Linked DNA regions of Homo sapiens: region 2 is linked to region 1. Evidence: promoter capture Hi-C in 16 types of primary human blood cells and fetal thymus (Javierre and others, 2016). All regions are on one chromosome and are shown on one strand. The core of a region is centred on a gene start or on the middle of the fragment in contact, and the rest is flanking DNA. Distances in the headings are between cores, read along the strand shown. Region 1 overlaps CKAP5 (cytoskeleton associated protein 5). Region 2 holds the start of ACP2 (acid phosphatase 2, lysosomal).

Region 1 (5,166 bases), core at 740-3,239:
GGCAGTATGACTTTTTTATGGCAAATTCCCAAGCTCTTGACCTACAAAAGCTCTTCACTATCACAATACAAGAGATCTGAATTTGATTACCATTCCTGGACTCTCACCTCTGGCTAAGGAGATGCTATTGCAGAAGCACAGAATGATTTTAACAGAAGTTTGAGAAAAACTTCTGCTCCATCAAAAAGCAACCCATTTGAATGACCACTGAGTGTGATGATAGGCTCATAAAAAAAAAAAAAGAAATTATTTTTTTAAAAAAGCAATGCATACACATGCCCAGAAATCTACTCAAACCATGTCTAGGAAGGACAACTGGATTAAAGAAACACAACAACTATGTAACTGTCATAGAAAACTTAAGATTTTTATTATTTAACCAAAATCTGACAAAATCCCATCTCTGAGTAGCAGGTGGCAAAAATGACAACACTTTCCCTCAAATTAAAAAAAAAACTCACTGTCTCCAGGTATTTCCCATTAACAAGGACAAGTGTTATCCTCTTGCCGGAGTATTCTGCATTACCAGGCGGCCAGAAATCTGAACAGTTTTCTAGCAGATTATCTCAAACTTTGGTGTGTTTGCTTTCCTAATCTTGGGACAGTGGCGTCCCACAAATTCCTTCAGAGATGGAGAGGGGTAAAGAGCTGTCTCTTTCACATTGTGCTCTTTATATCAGGAGGAAAGGTTAACTGGACTCTTCCTAAGAGATGTTCACTGTCAACATATCCAAAAGGGGTACGGGATACCACCAACACAGGCCTCTGGAGAGACAGCTAAACCTGGCTGTGAATTAGGACAACTTGGAGTTACTGCTCGACTGTACCAAGGTAGCTGAAAACCTAATGCTTACTCATCCCAAAGCTACCAAGGTCTTCAAATACCAGGGTAAGGATCCAAGGCCCAGAGAGAGAGATTCAGCTCCACCCATTCAGCTCAAATGGGTTATACTCTGGTAAAAGCAACCCTCTCCTCACCCCAAGTAAGAACCAGGTGGGGGCAAAGCCAGGTCGTGGGCACTGCTCACCCACTGCATGCCCAAACAAGCACCCTACGGCTGCTGTCACCACCCAGAAGTAGAGCAGATACCCTGGCTTTAGCTCACTGGAGCCGGCATTGTTTACGCTCTTTCGCCGCCTTAGCCTCTGATAGGCCAGCAAAGTCCCCAGTACTGTCCACCAGGACTTGCAGCACGGTCGCGGGATGCTTGCCCTTTGCCCGTGGTTTGACACTTACGCTCCCCGGGCAGGGAGAGGTCAGGGAAGCTAAGGTCCGAGCAGGATCAGCAGGAATACCCGGCAGGCGGCGGCGGCGGCGGCAGCAGCATTGGTGCTGCGGTCCGCTGGGAAACGCCTCCTCCGAGGGCGGGGCCCGGAGCGCCACTGTCAGAGTGCCCGCCCCACCCTCAGCTCCCCTCTCCGCACACTCTGAAAGCTTAAAGGGGCCGCAGTGTATCTTCGCCCAGAGGTTTGCAGGCCTCAGGCGCTGCTTCTAGGTCCTAGGCTTTCCCAGGCAAGAGGCAAATGATGGACCAACTAGGAAGACTACTGCAGTTGGGTGGACCTCTTTTTTTGGTAGTATTACACGTAATATTCCAGAAACAAAGGAGATGACCAGTTCCCACTATCACAATCCTAATCCCTCCTCCAAGGGTGAAAAAAATTACTGCAGGTAACAGCCAAAGCATCAAGGTAGATACATAGCCCCTCATTATATGTAAGCTGCTTACTTCATTAACCTCCTTTGGACTCGAGCAGTTCTTCAAATGGCAACTCAAAGGCCTGGAAAAGATCCTACAATGCTCCACCTCACCTTTTCACGGAATTCGTTCTTTACAAAACTGGAGGAATCCTGGACAATGATACAAGATGGGCAGGAAGGTAATAGAAGGTGAAATAGAAAAATACCAGCCTGGGCAACAAAGTGAGACCCCATCTCTACAAAAAATAAAAAATTAGCTGGGCATGGTGGTACAAGACTAGTCCCAGCTACTCCGGAGGCTGAGGTGGGAGGATCCTGAGCCCAGGACTAGGCTGCAGTGAGCCAGACTGCACCACAGCACTCCACCCTGAACAACTAACCAAAACCATACCTCTATAAAAGAAAAAAAGAAAAATAACCTTCCCCATCTTGTGTGTAAAATGTGATCTTTCAAAAATTGACCTAAAAGTCAACGTAAATAAATGTACAAGTCTATGTAAGTAATCTTGCATGCCAATACAATTGTAATGTGCAATCATCTAATTTAATATGAAGAGTTCTTAAGAAAATTGTAGTAGAAACGGCATTAATATTTCAAGGAGTTAAGTCCTAGTCTCTGAGATCTCCAAAGGTTAGCAACTAGTTTTAATTTTCTTTTTGTAGGAGGAGTTTGTCCTGAATCCTAGTTTACAAGGTTTGACTGCATTTTGTGTCTCCCATCATACCAACAGGAAAGATATGTGCTTTTTTTAAGTCCATATTACTCCACCTAATTTAGATGAATCAACACACCTCCTTAAAGCCTTGGGCCATCATCAGATCAGTACAGGAATCAATGTAGTAAGCTTAAAGACCATTTGTAAGTAACCCAATTTCTCCTATCCACAACAGGAATAAAGCAGAAATTTAAGAATCCAAAGAACAGTTATGAAGATTGCTCCACCAGGGAGCAGACTCAGGTTACTCTTATTCTGAAGGTTTTAGAGAACCCTAAGCTAAAGTTGCCAAGTATCTTTTCCTTACTTGGGTGGGGGCGGGGTAGATAAATAAATAAAGTTGCCAAGTAAAAAATGGATTCAGATTAAAACAGTCTGATTTTTGAACTGCCAAGACAGTCTCATTCTACAATGCATTTAACTGTAAAGAATACCTCTGAATTAGGTAATTAAGACCTTCATTCATTATATTCCCATCAAGCTTAACTGTTCTGAGGGTAATGGTTTGCAGATCAGCCTTTCTCATCAGATTGTGAGTTCCTCAAGGGCAAGGGCTGGAATGTATCTTAATTATCTTTTTCTTCCAATGTGTGATACAAAATAAGTACCCAACAAATATTTATCACAAGAGGTATGACCAACATTTTCTGTTACATAGCATTCTAGTGACATAGGACTTCAGTTAACTGCAATAAACATAGTACAATGAGTGTATGTGTGTATGCACACACAAATGGATAATACCCTGTGCTGTGCTTATGAGCGAATTAAACATTTTAAAAATTAGAGAAAAAAATCTACTAACAGTCACAAAAAAAGTCAAATACTGTATGAACCCACTTTTATGAGGTATGCAGTCAAATTCATGAATTCATAGAACCAGAAAGTAGAATGGTAGTAACCAAAGATGGGGTGGGGGTGTGGCTTGGGAGGGGGATAAGAGAAATATTTAGATACAGAGTTTCAGATTAGCAAGATGAGAAAGTTCTGGAGATCTGTTTCATAACGATGTGAATATACTTAACACTATTGAACTGTACACTTAAAAATGGTTAAGATGGTAAATTTTATACTATTGTTTTTTACCATACACAAAAAATGAGACATTCGTCTATACAAAAATTGCTTTGCAAATATTTAAAGTAAACAAAAGATGATATGGAAGACAGAAGTAAATATATAAATACAGTTGACCCTTGAACAACATGGATTTGAACTGCACGGGTTGACTTGCATGTGAATTTTCTTCTGCCCCTGTCACCCTTAAGACAGCAAGACCAACCCCTCCTCTTCCTCAGCCTATTCGACATGAGGATGACAAGGATGAAGACCTTTATGATGATCCACTTCCATTTAATGAATAGTAAATATATTTTCTACTTACTGGGCAATAAAGTCTTACTTTACTTAAAAGACAGTCTACTTACTGTCTCTAAAAATAAATACAAAAAATTATCTGGGCCTGGTGGCACATGCCTGTTAGTCCCAGCTACTCGGGAGGCTAAGGTAGAAGGATTGCCTGAGCCCAGAAAGAGTGAGCCAAGAGGGGACCACAACACTCCACCCTGAACGATGGAGCGAGAAAAAATATTTTTCCTCCTTCTGATTTTCTTAACATTTTCTTTTCTCTAGCTTACTTTACTGTAAGAATACAATATATAATACATATACAAAATATGTGTTAAACAATTATGTTATCAATAAGGCTTCTGGTCAACAGTAGGCTATTAGTAAAGTTTTGGGGGTGTCTAAAATTATATGTGAAGTTCCCACTGCACAGGGGGATCCCTAACGTTGGCATTGCTCAAGGGTCAAATGTGCCTATGTGGAAGAAATCCATTAAGTTTTAAGAAGAAATTTGCAAGACAGTATATGAAGTCTAATTCCTTTTTTGTATGTGTGTGTGTGTGTGTGTGTGTGTGTGTGTGTGTGTGTGTGTGTATCTCACATACACATTTACATATGCATTTGTGTAGGCTGATAATGACCCCCAAAGAAATCACGTTGTAATCCCTGGGACTTGTAAATGTTACTTTATTTGGAAAAAGGGTCTTTGCAGATGTGATTAAATTAAGGATCTTGAGATGGGGGGATTACCCTGGATTGTTTGGGTGGGTAAAGGCAATCACATATATCATTATGGGCAAGACGGAGGGAGATTTGACCCAATGGAGAAAGTGATATGAAGAGGGATCAGAGAAAGATTAGAATAGAGTAGGCCGGGCACGGTGGCTCACGCCTGCAATCCCAGAACTTTGGGAGTCCAAGGCAGGCAGATCACAAGGTCAGGAGGTCGAAACCATCCTGGCTAACACGGTGAAACCCCGTCTCTACTAAAAATACAAAAAATTAGCCGGGCGTGGTGGCAGGCACCTGTAGTCCCAGCTACTCGGGAGGCTGAGGCAAGAGAATGGCATGAACCTGGGAGGCAGAGCTTGCAGTGAGCCGAGATGGCACCACCGCACTCCAGCCTGGGCAACAGAGCAAGACTCCGTCTCAAAAAAAAAAAAAAAAAAAAAAAATTAGAATAGAGTAGAGAAAGATGGCCACAGGCCTAGGAGTGCCAGCAGCCACCAGAAGCTGGAAGAGGCAAGGAACAGATTCTTTCCTAGGGGCTCTGGAGGGAGTGTGGCCCTGCTGACTGACACCCTGATGTAGGTCCATAAGACTCATTTTGGATTTCTGGCCTCCATACTGTGAGAGAATAAATCCTGTTTTTTTAAGCCACCAAGTTTGTGGTCATTTGTT
Region 2 (5,166 bases), core at 1,411-3,910, 420 kb after region 1:
TGCTGAGTCAATCAGTAAGGCTCTCTGGTCTGTCTGGTTTCATAACAACACCTCTCTCCCTGTCTAGATCAGGGTCCTTGGGGCAGAAACTGGCTCCAGTGACGACCCTTAGAGACCAGGGAGAAAAAAATAAGATAAAGGGCTGGGCCTGGTGGCTCACACCTATAATCCTAGCACTTTGGGAGGCCAATGCAGGAGGATCGCTTGAGGCCAGGAGCTCGAGACCAGCCTGGGCAACATAGTGAGACCCTGTCTCTACAAAAAAAAATTTTTTAATTACCCAAGTGTGGCGGGCACTTGTAGTCCCAGCTACTTGGGATGCTGAGGCAGGAGGATCACTTGAGCCCAGGAGTTTGAGGCTGCAGTGAGCTATGACTGAGGCATGTGCTACAGTTTGGGTGACAGAGTGAGACCCCTTTAAAATATATGTATATATTTTGGGCCGGGCACGGTGGCTCATGCCTGTAATCCCAGCACTTTAGGAGGCCGAGGCAGGCGGATCAGCTGAGGTCAGGAGTTCAAGACCAGCCTGGCCAACATGATGAAATCCTGTCTCTACTAAAAATACAAAAATTAGCCAGGCATGGTGGCACACACCTGTAATCCCAGCTACTTGGGAGGCTGAGACAGGAGAATCGCTTGAACCTAGGAGGTGGAGGTTGCAGTGAGCCAAGACCATGTCACTGCACTCCAGCCTGAGCAACACAGCAAGACTCTGTCTCAAAAAAAAAAATTTTTTTTGAAGAGCTTATTCAGAGATAGTGGCTCATGAAAAGGGAGGAGGAAACTGGGGAAGGACAAGCTCAGGACAGAGCTGGGCCTTAAGAGAACAATAACAATGTCTATGGATTCTTGATACGGCTGAGGCTGACAGTGGTAATCAGAGGAACAGCTTCCCCCATTCCTGGGGTGGGGCGAAGACTCAAGGAGCAGGCACACTCACCAGTCCTCCCTGATGTGCCCTAGGAATATAGCACGACCTGGCGCAGCAGACAGGGCTCAAAAACCTCATCTTGATCAAGAAAAGACAAGCCCTCTCTACGCATGTCTTCCCCGCTGTCTTTCATCTTGGCCCTGTCTGGTTTATCATTAGATACCCCCACAACATTCTAAGCTCCATGAAGACAGAGATCATATCTGTATGGTGCACAACTGAATGCAAAGTGCTAGCACAGTCCTTGGCCTTTAATAGGTACTCAATGTCTTGGATGGAAAGCCTGTGATTTCACAGTCAGAAACCACTTTGCCAGGCCCGCCCTTAAGTCCGAATTTGGATGCTTAATCAAATTTGCCTCATCCCAGCCAAGCAGGGGCAACTCAGCTCCTAGGGCTTTGTTCCAGACAGCTCTCAGATGTCTTTTCCTGTAGTTGTGACCAAAAATACAAGAAGGAGGCCAAAGTGCCCAGCCTCAGCCTTAGGCTCCCTGAGGGCAAAAGATGAGGGCAGCATACCTTGTTCCCCTTGCCTCTGGAGCTCCCAACCTTACCTCTTGCCGGTGATAAGAGGTGTTTAGGAAGCCGTGATAGCGCTGCCGCAGGGCCTGGCCCAGTTCCCAGTGCTGTAGCATCCCCTCCTGTGGGCAAACCCAAGGGTTAAGAGGGTCTAGAGGGAAGGGGTGGCTTCAAGCCCCATGGGGTTTAGGCCCTGTTGCTTTCCAGGTTCACGCTTTGCTGGAGTCAATTAATCTGATCCCAGAAGTCTTTCATTAAGTGGCCAGTCATGCACAGCAATATCATGGGCACAGAGATTAAGGTTATGAAATCTGGTCAAAGTCAGCACCCATATGGGAAAAGGCAGTTTAGTAGGACCCCAAGTTTTGTAGACTGCTCTAGACGTCGCTCATTCTGCAGCTCATCCTGAGGAAAGGCTGGCTTCTGACCCACCTTGGTTAACTGACCAAACCCCTGGGGCCATTCTTCTTCCTGATAGGGGTCCTTGGGATATGTCTTCACTGGTGAACGGTCTCCATGGCGGTACAGCTGAGAGAATAAAATGGTTTGCCTATAGGTCAGAAGCATCCCCTTGATAGGGACCCAGAGCCTACCTTTTGCCCCATGTTAGGGAAGGAAGTCTCATTCCCTCTGGGAAGCCTACTGGCTGCAAAAGACCCCAGCTAGGAGTCAGTCACTTCTTCCAGATTCCAGAGATTCTAACTTAGCTAAGCAATGCTACTGGAGACCATAGGCAAAGCCAAGGTACAGGTAGGAAGGGAAAAGAGAAGTGAAAGCAACGTATGTGGTGGGGACAACTGGGGAAAAAAGATAACCAAAGGCTTCTTTAGGGATGAGTCTTAACCATTCAACCACTTCCCTGTCTCAAGGCAGACTCACCCCGACGTATTCGGTCATCCTGACTCCCATAAGCCAGGGCTCCAGGTCAATCCTGAATCCAGCCTCCCAACTACCCAGGCCAGTCGTCCCCTCCTAAACCAGCTGTTCCTTCCCGAGATCCTCGACCTCCACCAGCTGGCCTTTGCCCTTTTAGCTTCAGGGAAGTCTTTGGTGAGCCCATCTCTCATTACCAAGGTAACGAAGCGCAGACTCCGGGCCCGGGTGGGCGGCATCACCACCAGGTTCACGCCGAGAAGGAGCTGGAGGAGAGCCGCCCGGCTCCAGCCGGACCGCTTGCCCGCCATCACCGTTGTAATCTATGCAGCAAACAAGCTGGAACCCGCTGGGTGGCACCTGCAAGCAGCCGCCCGGACGCACCCGTAAGGACACACGCCGGAAGTGCGTTCGCCGCCATCTTACTTAGGGACCTGCTGGGGTGCGGGGAAAAGGCGCAGTCTCGGTGGGATTGCGTGCAGGAGGGTCGTGGTCTGGCTGTGGCGGAGGAGCATAAGAAGGTAACGCGACCTGGCGCGGCAGACAGGGCTCGAAGACCTCATCTTGATTAAGAAGGCCACAAATTCGCGTTTGCCTCTGCTCGGAGAAATCCCTTACCAAGGTGGCACTTGCAGTGGGCGGGACCATGTCTGGAGAACCAGCGTCCCCTCCAGGCTTGACCCCATAGCTAGATCGGGTGCAGAATTGAGGCGAGGGATGGGAAAGTAGAGGTCGCTTCTCTCCACGCCCCTGCCTTTGTGGGGAGATTGAGCCCTGGCCCTGTTCTCCAGGAGATGTTTTGCTTGGGGTGCAGGACACAGTATGTAAACAACCCTTTGGACTCCGTGTGTCCTTGAGGTTGCCCCAGTCTGGCCTACCGTTCCTGCCCTGCACAAAGCTTCAGTAGCCCTCTCACTTTCCCTTCCAGTCCTTTCCCTGTCCTCCCTCCCCTCCACTTCCAAGTTTTAGTTAATTAGAGTCAAGACGTCATGTCATGCCTCTTCCCAAAGGAGTTGGGTTGCACAGGATGTTCAGACTTTACAAACCCAAAGCACTGAATCCCTGGGGGAGGAATTTCAGACCAGTGGGGAGGTATTTTGAGGTAAGGGACAGGCGCATATCATAAAGTGGGAGTAGGTGGGGTTTCCACAGAATCAATGGCCCTCTTGGCATTGACCATTAGGATTCAGGTGCAGCCAGTTTGGCCTCAGGACTTTGTGACTCCTGTGACGGTTGCAGGTCAGATCATAGGTCCTGGGGATGCTTTGATTCAGATCTGCCTACTGGAAGCAAATCTCCTCAGATCTTTGGGAAACAAAACTGATCAGGCTTGGCCTGGGCGCCGTGGCTCACCTGTAATACCAGCACTTTGAGAGGCCGAAGCAGGCAGATCACCTGAGGTCAGGAGTTCGAGACCAGCCTGGCCAACGTGGCGAAACCCCGTCTCTACTAAAAATACAAAAAAAAAAAAATTAGCCGGGTGCAGTGGCGTGCTCCTGTAATCCCAGCTACTCTGGAGGCTGAGGCAGGAGAATCGCTTGAACTCGGAAAGCGGAGGTTGCAGTGAGCTGAGATCACGCCACTGCACTCCAGCCTGCGCGACAGAGTGAGACTGTCTCAAAACAACAACAACAAAAACCTGATTAGGCTTGGTGTGGTGGCTCACGTTTCTAATCCCAGCACTTTGGGAGGCCAGGGTGGGAAGATTGCTTGAGCCCAGGAGTTGGAGACCAGCCTGAGCAGCTTAGGAAGATCTCCTCTCTACAAAAAAAAGTTTAAAAATTAGCTGGGTGTGGTGGCACACACCTGTGGTCCTAGCTCCTCGGGAGGCTGAGGTGGGAGGATCACCTTCAGCCCAGGAGGTTGAGGCTGCAGTGAGCCATGATGGTGCAACTGCACTCCAGTCTAGATGACAGAGCAAGACTGTGTCTCAAAAAGAAGAAAAGAAAAAAAAAGATCAGGATTATCTGTCTTTATTTTGTCCTAGGACTCCAGATTCAATTATTTATATATACTTCAGGATTTAAACTTTGCTTCCAGAGTTGTCATGGAGGAGGCCAAGAAGCAAATAGAGTAAGAGCCAAAGCCTGGGTAGCCAAACAGTTCTTAACCTTCTTATTTAATCACAAGCCCCTTTATGAATCACATGAAAATTTTGCACCTCTCCTCCAGAAAAATGTTCACACATATAAACACACACATGGAATTTTGCATATAATCCCAAATGGTTCACAAAGACCATTTATTACAGGTTTCATAAATCAGCATCTCTGAATACCTGATTTAACCTAGTCCTCTTACTTTACAGCTTAGGAAACAAACCTAAAGAGAGGAAGTGACTTGCCCAAATTCACAGTTTGGGCATGGGCACAGTTTGAGAATGGATTAAAAGTCAAGTTTTGGCCGGGTGCGTGCTCACGCCTGTAATCCCGGCACTTTGGGAGGCCGAGGCGGGTGGATCACGAGGTCAGGAGATCAAGACCATCCTGGCTAACATGGTGAAACCCCATCTCTACTAAAAATACAAAAAGTTAGCCGGGTGTGGTGGCAGGTGCCGGTAGTCCCAGCTACTCAGGAGGCTGAGGCAGGAGAATGTCGTGAACCCAGCAGGCGGAGCTTGCAGTGAGCGGAGATCGTGCCACTGCACCCCAGCCTGGGCGACAGAGCAAGACTCCGTCTCAAAAAAAAAAAGTCAGGTTTTGTGATTTTCAGTTAAATAGTCTATAATGGGCTGCTTCTTGCAGGCTACTCAAACTGCATTACTAAACTGTAATTGGTGATCCCGAAATCCTTTCAATAAAGAGGTATCTGTCAAAGGAAACCTTTTCAAATTAGTTGGAC

Evidence for each region. Contacts are between HindIII fragments. The CHiCAGO score rates a contact against its expected background, and 5 or more counts as called.
Region 2: a contact is called between the fragment with the promoter of ACP2 here and a fragment that was not itself captured in region 1, in 1 of 17 cell types (erythroblasts). The highest score is 5.2, in erythroblasts.

What each region holds. Positions count from the first base shown.
Region 1 is chr11:46,825,525-46,830,690 of GRCh38, forward strand. The region is part of intron 1 of CKAP5 (cytoskeleton associated protein 5); the gene reads right to left. Among named protein-coding and RNA genes, the nearest start is that of CKAP5, 18 kb to the right of the region's middle. RefSeq lists enhancers at 661-1,213, 1,214-1,764. The HindIII fragment of the contact is 1,112 bases long and covers 1,434-2,545 here.
Region 2 is chr11:47,246,154-47,251,319 of GRCh38, forward strand. ACP2 (acid phosphatase 2, lysosomal) reads right to left here and starts at 2,661. Exons shown (of 11, transcript NM_001610.4): 1 at 2,523-2,661; 2 at 1,885-1,980; 3 at 1,488-1,574. The coding sequence starts at 2,636. It also overlaps a transcript of NR1H3 not described here. RefSeq lists enhancers at 2,127-2,216, 2,347-2,856 and a silencer at 2,937-3,104. The HindIII fragment of the contact is 7,782 bases long and covers 1-3,221 here.